3 separate regions of the Homo sapiens genome follow, and regions 1 and 3 are each linked to region 2. Evidence: promoter capture Hi-C in 16 types of primary human blood cells and fetal thymus (Javierre and others, 2016). All regions are on one chromosome and are shown on one strand. The core of a region is centred on a gene start or on the middle of the fragment in contact, and the rest is flanking DNA. Distances in the headings are between cores, read along the strand shown.

Evidence for each region. Contacts are between HindIII fragments. The CHiCAGO score rates a contact against its expected background, and 5 or more counts as called.
Region 1: a contact is called between a fragment that was not itself captured here and the fragment with the promoter of GAB4 in region 2, in 2 of 17 cell types (M2 macrophages and M0 macrophages). The highest score is 7.0, in M2 macrophages.
Region 3: a fragment that was not itself captured here is called in contact with the fragment with the promoter of GAB4 in region 2 in 2 of 17 cell types (M2 macrophages and M1 macrophages); the score reaches 6.9 in M2 macrophages.

What each region holds. Positions count from the first base shown.
Region 1 is chr22:16,933,902-16,936,601 of GRCh38, forward strand. It overlaps the pseudogene IGKV1OR22-1. Among named protein-coding and RNA genes, the nearest start is that of GAB4, 73 kb to the right of the region's middle. RefSeq lists an enhancer at 1-250. The HindIII fragment of the contact is 7,898 bases long and covers 1-2,700 here.
Region 2 is chr22:17,006,915-17,009,614 of GRCh38, forward strand. It overlaps GAB4 (GRB2 associated binding protein family member 4), which reads right to left and starts at 1,308. Exons shown (of 10, transcript NM_001037814.1): 1 at 1,027-1,308. The coding sequence starts at 1,200. The HindIII fragment of the contact is 7,120 bases long and covers 1-2,700 here.
Region 3 is chr22:16,912,929-16,915,628 of GRCh38, forward strand. It overlaps the pseudogene IGKV2OR22-4. Among named protein-coding and RNA genes, the nearest start is that of XKR3, 89 kb to the left of the region's middle. The HindIII fragment of the contact is 4,149 bases long and covers 1-2,700 here.

The DNA.
Region 1 (2,700 bases), core at 145-2,644, 73 kb before region 2:
TACTGAGCACACTGGCTGAGTAAATTCCTAGTGTTCTCCTTCCTTACCTGGCAGCCAGAGCCCCAGGAGCCCCAGGAGCTGAGTGGGGGCCCTCGCGTCCGTGCTGTGTCCTGACTGGGGCTGACTCCTGCACAGGGTGTGACCAGCCTATTAAGAAGTCTTCAGGGCAGGGGGCTGTGCTCTGGGAACATGCTAATCAGCAGGGAGTGGAGCAGGCTGGGCATAGCTGCAGGGCTGGCTCATCTCAGTAACTCAGCATAGGAACAATGTCCCTAGGGTCCCAGGTCAAACCAGGGCAGTACAGATATGTCTGTAAATAACGTGTTTCTTCCTGGGGACCACTTTGTCACAGAGCACATTTTTTGATACTTCTCAAAATTTGAAATACTGCTGAGTACCTGATGAAATAATATATTCCATTGGTGTATTGGGATTATTTAGGAGAATATTCTTCTCTGTAGGAAAATGATAGTAAAGTTTTAGAGGGTGTGATCATCGGGTATTTGATATACTCTGAAAGGGAAGGGGATACATTGTGGTATACTTACAACATTTCTGTGAGTGTGAAATTGTTTCTTCCCTTTAAAAAAATTTATCAAGATAATGCTAAATATATTTCAGTATTTAAATACTTTCAGTATTTTGGAATGACTTTAATTCATTATTATGATTATCACTATCTGTTCAAGCAATTCCCTGCAGATGCACAAAGATGATACCCTCAACCTCAAAGCATGTATTGCTCACAGATCTACCATTATCCAAACCTATGGACCTCTTTAACGCCAGGGATTTTATGGAATGCATCTTATTTTTGGTTTCAGGGCCTCCATATTCTATTCCTGTTTCTGTCATTGGTTATTTCTTCCCAGGATTCATCAGCATGAAGGGCTGAGTAGTGATGCTAGACCTGACTACTTAAAAAATAAAAAAAAAGTCACTTGTTTCTTCCTCCAATTATAGAAGCATGGATTAGGATAAACTTGAAATTATTCAGGGATCAATTGTCTCCAAAAAAAGACTAATGCCATATTCCCTGAGTAATGGTCTGGGCTGCACTGCCCACTAGCATGTTCCTGGGGACTCAGGAGGAGCTCCTCTGGAGCCTGGATTCCTGGAGATCAGGTGACGGGGAGAGCTTGGGAAAGACCAGGACAGTGAGTCTTCCCTCCTAGTGAGGGCAGCTGCTGCTCAGGGCATATCCCTGCCTTGCACTATCAATGCCACTTTCTTTCCTCTTTTACTCTTTAGCAGTGAGGGAAGGTCATCCTAACCCAGGTGCCAGCCTCCTGTCTCACATCTAGGACAGAGAGTCTCCATCTCCTTTCCAGTAAGTACCCATGTATATGGAGAAATCACTTGGATTTGGACAAAACTGAACACAGATTCGCATCCATTATATGTCACATCTTTAACAGGGGCCAAGGCATCTCAGCCTGGTGCAGTCGTAGAGGAAGTGGATTGAACTACATCAGCATCAGTGGGCTTCAGCCTGGGGTTCTGGGGAGTATTACTGATGCCTGACTAGGAGTGGTCAAATCACTTTAGTGGAGACTCTGCATACACCCTCCTGCTGCCTATTCAGGGGCCTGAACTTGGGGGAACGTACTTGTTTTGAGGGAAAAACGGAAACTTCCTACATTTATATATATATATGTATATATGTGTGTGTGTGTGTATATATATATGTGTGTCTGTGTATATATGTGTGTGTGTATGTATGTGTGTATATGTATAAATCTCCTGTTAGTTCTGTCCCTCTAGATGTCACTGGCTAATACAGGAAGTTTATTAAGTATTAACTCACACAATCACAAGGTCTCCCAATAGGATGTCTGCAGGCTGTGGAGCAAGGAGAGCCAGCCAGAGTTCCAAAACTGAAGAACTAGGAGTCCATGTTCGAGGGCAGGAAGCATCCAGCACGGGAGAAAGATGTAGGCTGGGAGGTGAGGCCCATCTCTTTTCACATTTTTCTGCCTGCTTATAGTCTAGCTGTGTTGGCAGCTGACTGGATTGTGCCCACACAGATTAAGGGCGGGTCTGCCTTTCCCAGCCCACTGACTCACATATTAATCTCCTTTGGCAACACCCTCACAAACACACCCAGGACCAATACTTTACCTCCTCAATCCAATCAAGTTGACACTCAGTATTAACCATCACAAGCCCACCCCTTGTCACCTTGAACACATACACATCTCCTGAGATCATACCTAATCTTAAAATAAAGACAATAATGTGGTCGTAATTACACCTAACATAACTATCCTTCCTACAACCGGAAACGCACCAATCGCCAACCCAAATACTATTACATAAAGTGAACAATGCTTAAATGCTGATATGAAGTCAATAACTCTTATGTCACCTGATAAAGAAAAAGGAAATGAAATCAAGATATTTTCTTAGTACAAGTGTATACATGCACAAAGATGTTTTTTAAGAAAAGAAGAAAGAAATACTCATGACAGTTCCAGTCCTCATTTCTGCAGCTGGTCACATGGTCACAGCTGGTATTGATTACTACCTTCTTCCATTATTCATTCTGTATTTCCTTTGCCTTTAGCAAGCACCTCAGCAGGTTGTGACCCCGGAGGGATCTGGACCATTTAGGTCTTACCTGGGTTGGGCTGTTGTAGTTTCCCATTGACCTTAATCAGAGTGCATGATAATCCCAAGAGACGCCCTAATGGATCTCCT
Region 2 (2,700 bases), core at 58-2,557:
TTGATGGGTGCAGCAAACCACCATGACACGTGTATATGTATGTAACAAACCTCCACGTTCTGCACATGTATCCCAGAACTTAAAGTATAATAAAAAATTGAAAAAAGAAATGGAGAAAGACAAGAACGCAGAATTGATCATACCCCATACCTCAGGGAAGCAGAGGAAAGGGAAGATGACTATAGGATCAGCTTATTCTGGAATAGATTCTTGAAGGGCTGGACCTGGGGCTAAGGAACAGGAGAGAAAAGCCTCTTCTATGTACCTTGGTATAATCATAGTGACTCCTAACAATTACCGCTTCCTCAGTAAAATTGTTGAAATTTAGAACAACACTCTTCAAATTAGCCACTAGGGGAAAGGGCAACCAATCTTCTTTTTTTCTAAATCGTTTAACCACATGAATTAATATATAGAAAACTACACTGCAGTGCACACTGTCCCTCAGCAGGCGTGGTGGCATGGAAGGACGCGAACGACCCCGGGAGTGGCGGGTGAGGAGGGAAGGGGAGCGAGCGGGTGCGAGGTGCCCGCGTTTTCCTGGGGCCCGGGAGGGAAAGGGAGAGGGTGTGAGGTGCCTGCCTTCTCGGGGCTTGGGAGGGAAGGTGAGCAGGTTTAAGGCGCCTGCCTTCCTTGGGGCCTGGGAGGGAAGGAGAGAGGGTGCGAGGTGCCCGCCATTCTCAGGGCCTGGGAGGGAAGGGGAGCGGGTGCGAGGTTCCTGCCGTTTTGCGAGGCTGCGGAGCCTGCTGTGTCCCCTTTCCCGCCCACTCTCCGACCTGCAGGCCCACGGCGCTCAAGGTAATAGGGTCCCCAGCCCTGGAATCAACTCCCTGGGTCTCGGAACGCAACCCACACAAACCTGGACCCTGTCTCTCACTGGCGGGGAGTCGCCTTCGCATGCAGACGTGGAGAAGTCGCCTCCACCCGCAGCTCCTCCCGTGGACCCAGGCCGCCTCCCCCACGCCCCTCCCGGAGTCCCCAGACCCTCCGTGGCGCTCCTGGTACCGCCCCCACTGCCCCACTCACAAAGAGCCTCAGCTTCTTCTCGGGGGGCGACTTCCTCAGCCAGCCGCTGTACAGCACGTGGCCACTTCTCGTGCTTCCGCCGGCGGGGCCACTTCCGGGCCACGAAGACAAAGGCGCAAATGCCGGGTCAGGTGGGCACAGCTCCCGGGAGGGTGAGGGGGACGGCAGGGACATGGGGGCTGCAGCTCACAGTGAAGGTGGGGGAGACAGGGCGAGAGGGCGTTGCTGGAGGTGGGGTGTGAGGGACGGCTTGCGATACCCTGGGACTGCGGGGTAGAAAGCGCAGTTCTAGGGGAGGTCGGGGTCAGAGGTGAAGCTCGTGGGGAGGGCGAGACCCGGGCGCAGGTGCTCACAGGCGAGGGCGGGGTTCAGGTTCCAGCTGGGCTTTGAGTTCCGGTTCAGGCTTCCATCTGTGGTTCCGGTTCCAATTTGAGGTGGAGTTTGGGATTAAAGTTTAGACGAGGCCTCTCGTTCAGGGTTTGCGTTGGGGATTGGGGTGGGGATTTGCACCCTGGGTCAGCCTGGGTGCATCTCATCGGGACCACCGGGGCGGGGGACATGGGCCGGGTGGCTCCTTGGGAGAAGAGGGACAGGGAGCGCAGCTGGTGGAGAGGACAAGAACGAGGGGCGCAGCTCATTCAGAGGGCCACAACAGAGTCTCAGGTGCTGAGTCCCATGCGCCAGATGAGGAAAGACAATGGAAGAGTTCAGGTTCCTGCTGGGGTTTGAGTTCCAGTTCGGGATTCGGCCCATGGTTTACCTTCTGACTTGAGTTGGGGTTTGGGGTCAAGGTTCAGGCTAGGACTTGAGTTCCGGGTTGCAGTTTGGGGGTGGGGTTAGGTTTCAGAGTGAGGGTTTGGGCCTGTTTGTGTTGTGTATGTTTGTGAATGTATTGGGATGTCACCGTGTGTACTTATGTCACGTGTGTGCACGCATCAGTGTGTGCATGTGTGAGTGTTCATTGAGTGTGGCACTGACAGCCAACCCCTCTCCTCCCATTTATGCCCCACTGTCTTATCCTGGTTGGGGTGGGCTTTACAAGTTCCTTCCCTGGGCCAGTTGGAGGTTCTCATGTTGCCTGGGGAGAGAAGGGAAGGAGAGAACAGGTCAAAGATGAGGGCAGCTTGGCCTCAACCAGACCCGGTGTCACGGGGACCAAGAAGCCGGAGGTCCTTGTCTCCTGCCTCTGGAGGAGCTTGGTTTGCTTCTTTGTTCACACATTGTGTGAAAGCACAGTTGGGGGCATCTGATATGCACAGGATCTGTTCTTGCCTCTGCAGATGTCTTAGAGAACAGGACAGACAAGGGGCCTCTTCAGTAAGCCATCCCCAATGTGCACTGCATGTCAGCTTACAAGAGGGGCACAGGGGCCCCATCAGGTAGCAGGGAGGATGCAAGGAAGAGTGTGTGGGGATGGGGGTGCTGGGTGGGGCCAGGTGAGTGGGTGCCTGGCTTCTCCTCAGAGCAAAGGAAAGTGCTGAAGAGTGTGAAACTGTGTGACATGTTATGCTTTATGTTTTGAGAATGGATTGCAGGAACAAGCAGACATGGGGGACCTGATGAGGGCCAATGGGATGTCCATAGAGATAAGATTTGGCTTGAGCTGGTGGGAAAAGTGGAGATGGAGCCACATGGAGGAAATTGCAGAGTCTTGAGACTGAGGAGACATGTGGG
Region 3 (2,700 bases), core at 133-2,632, 94 kb before region 2:
ATTTGCAGGCTCCAGTGTGATTGATATCTATAAAAATATTGCCATACAATTTTTAAACGTAACAGAAGTGGAACTTTGGAATTTTAATTGCACTTACCATGAAATTTGTTATATTGGAATAAACAATCATCCTAGTGTACTTTCTACCCTTAGCCTGAAGCAGAACTTCTTCTGTTGATTCTGTCATTATTTTGTGTCTATCACACAGTGTAATTATATGTACCTCATGTGACTCATTATTGGGTTCAATATCATTTAGAACACTATATTTAATAAAATCTATGAAAAGCATAGATGCTCCAGGCATTTACAACTAAAACATTGAATTCAGATTCATTTTCAGGTAATGATATAATCATGTGAAAAGAATGCATTTCTGTATTTTTTGAAACCTTTTCTTTTGAAAACATAGTAATACATTTCTACTCTAAAATAGAACTTAGCCTAAATACTTTCAAAACCTTTAGAATTTGGAAAAGAAATAAAAATCTCACATAATTCTGAATGTTCCCTTTTTTACTTGAAATAAACTTTATATTTTCCATCTTTGAGTTCCTGCAGTTTATTTTCAAAGGCCACTTTTGGAATTGTGAAAACTCTGCTTTCACTTGGCAAATAATAATTAAGAGTAATCAATCTTTTAACATTAAGATCTCATACCTGCCATGAGTTTACAAAGTCTATTTGAATAATCCAACATCAAACATTTTTTCTAAGTGTTAGCTGTACTCCCCTGCACACAGCTTGTGTAGAATGCTTCTACCTGTAAGACACTGGAGAGACGGTTTGGTGGGAGTCAGAGAGCAGAATTAGGAAGATGGGAGAGTATGAATTTCCCAATATGACTAAGTGTCATCGCGTGTGAAATAAACCCCAAGATGGTCATTTCCCATATGTGTTCTACTTGTGTTGTCACTAAACTGCATCCATGGTCTGGTTATTCTGACAGTTACATGAACTTGACAAATGTGGGCAAGACAGGGAGGGTGAGGATGTGAGCTTTCATTCACTCTCCCTTCATCATAGCTGGTTGCTCCCAGGGCACGTAGCCCCCATGAATTCTCCTCCTCCTGATGCCTTCCCCAGGCTGTGACTGCTGGTGGGGCCTTAACATATGAAATCTGAGGTGCTACTGAGGCTGTCATGGACCAGCGTCCTCAGCAGCAAACCTTGCCCTGACATCCCCAACAGCCTTCTCCTCTGCAGACTCAAAGACTCTGCTCAGCTGTTCCCTCAGACAAGCAGCCCATGCGGGCAGCTGGGTCAACCCAGCAGGGAGGTTTCTGTTCGAGGATGTAGCACTGTGGGCGGAGTTTGTAGAGCTTGCATGCAGTAATAAACCCCAACATCCTAAGCCTCCACCCTACTGATTTTCAGAGTGAAATCAGTGCCTGACCCACTGCCACTGAACCTGTCTGGAACTCCAGAGGCCCGGTTGGAAACCTCATAGATCAGGAGCTGTGGAGACTGGCCTGGCTTCTGCAGGTACCAATTCAAATAGGTGTATTCATCATCAGTATCCAAGAGGCTCTCACTAGATCTGCAGGAGATGGAGGCTGGCTCTCCAGGAGTGACAGGCAGGGAGAGTGGAGTCTGGGTCATCACAATGTCCCCACTGGATCCTGAAATAATAACAGAGAAGTGCAAGGTTATATAAACACATTTTGAGCAACTTTCATGATTTTCCTTAAGATTTTGATTTAGAGTTACATATTTTTTCAAGTTTTGATTTTTATCATGAAAAGTAGACTTTCTAAAATGAACCAATTTGTTACTAGCCAGCAGGGAGCAGTTTATTTTCAAGAGCTTAATCAGAGCACTGGTCATTTTTCCTGGGAGATGATTCCTGACTATTCCTGAGACAAAAAATACGAGTAATCTTTCCCGGAGCACAGACCATGTGCCCGTAACACATGGTTGAAATAAAAATAGGAAGCTGTGGAGACCCCAGATCTCACCCTCCCACCCCATTTTCTCACCTCACTTTTGATCCTATCCTTACCAGAGACCCAGAGCATTAGCAGCCCCAGGAGCTGAGCAGGGAGCCTCATTGTGAGAAGGTGAACTGAGGAGTCCTGATCAGTCAAGGCAAGGTTAGAGCTGAGCTTTTATCTCAGACTCACAAGGGAAGGTCCTCCCTAAGGGACAACATGCAAATCACCTGGTGGGTGCAGTGGTGTGGAAAAGGTTGATGGGGCAGGGGGAATGTCTCTTCTGTGAACAATGTGACATAAAATGTTTGCTGGAGCCAAACAAATGTAGTTCAAGTCAAGTTTGCCTGTGGTCAAGGGAAGAAGGCTCTGACTGTGGAAGTTGGGACCTTGGGCAGGGACACATTGTGCAGTGCATGCCACACTGAGAACGCACAAGGACCCTGACAACGTGGAAATGTGTTTCTAGGATGCATCTTTGGGAGGTGAATGCCATCCTGCAGGCCTCCCTCCCAATCAATCTAGAGAAAGAAAACAGCCCCATTCCCACAAGCACAGACGGGCAGAGGGCCTGCAAATGAAAAGTGCTCCTGAGCCAGTTCAAGTGTTGCCTCGTATGTGCTGTTTCCAGGATAACTGTTCAATATTATTCAGTGCAAGTGTTAGAATCTCCCCGTCCCTGGCACCTGATGAGTGAGCCCCAAAAAAGCGCTCCGTCCAAGGGCCTCACAGGGAGAATGATGTGGGTCTCTACATTTAGAGCCAAGAG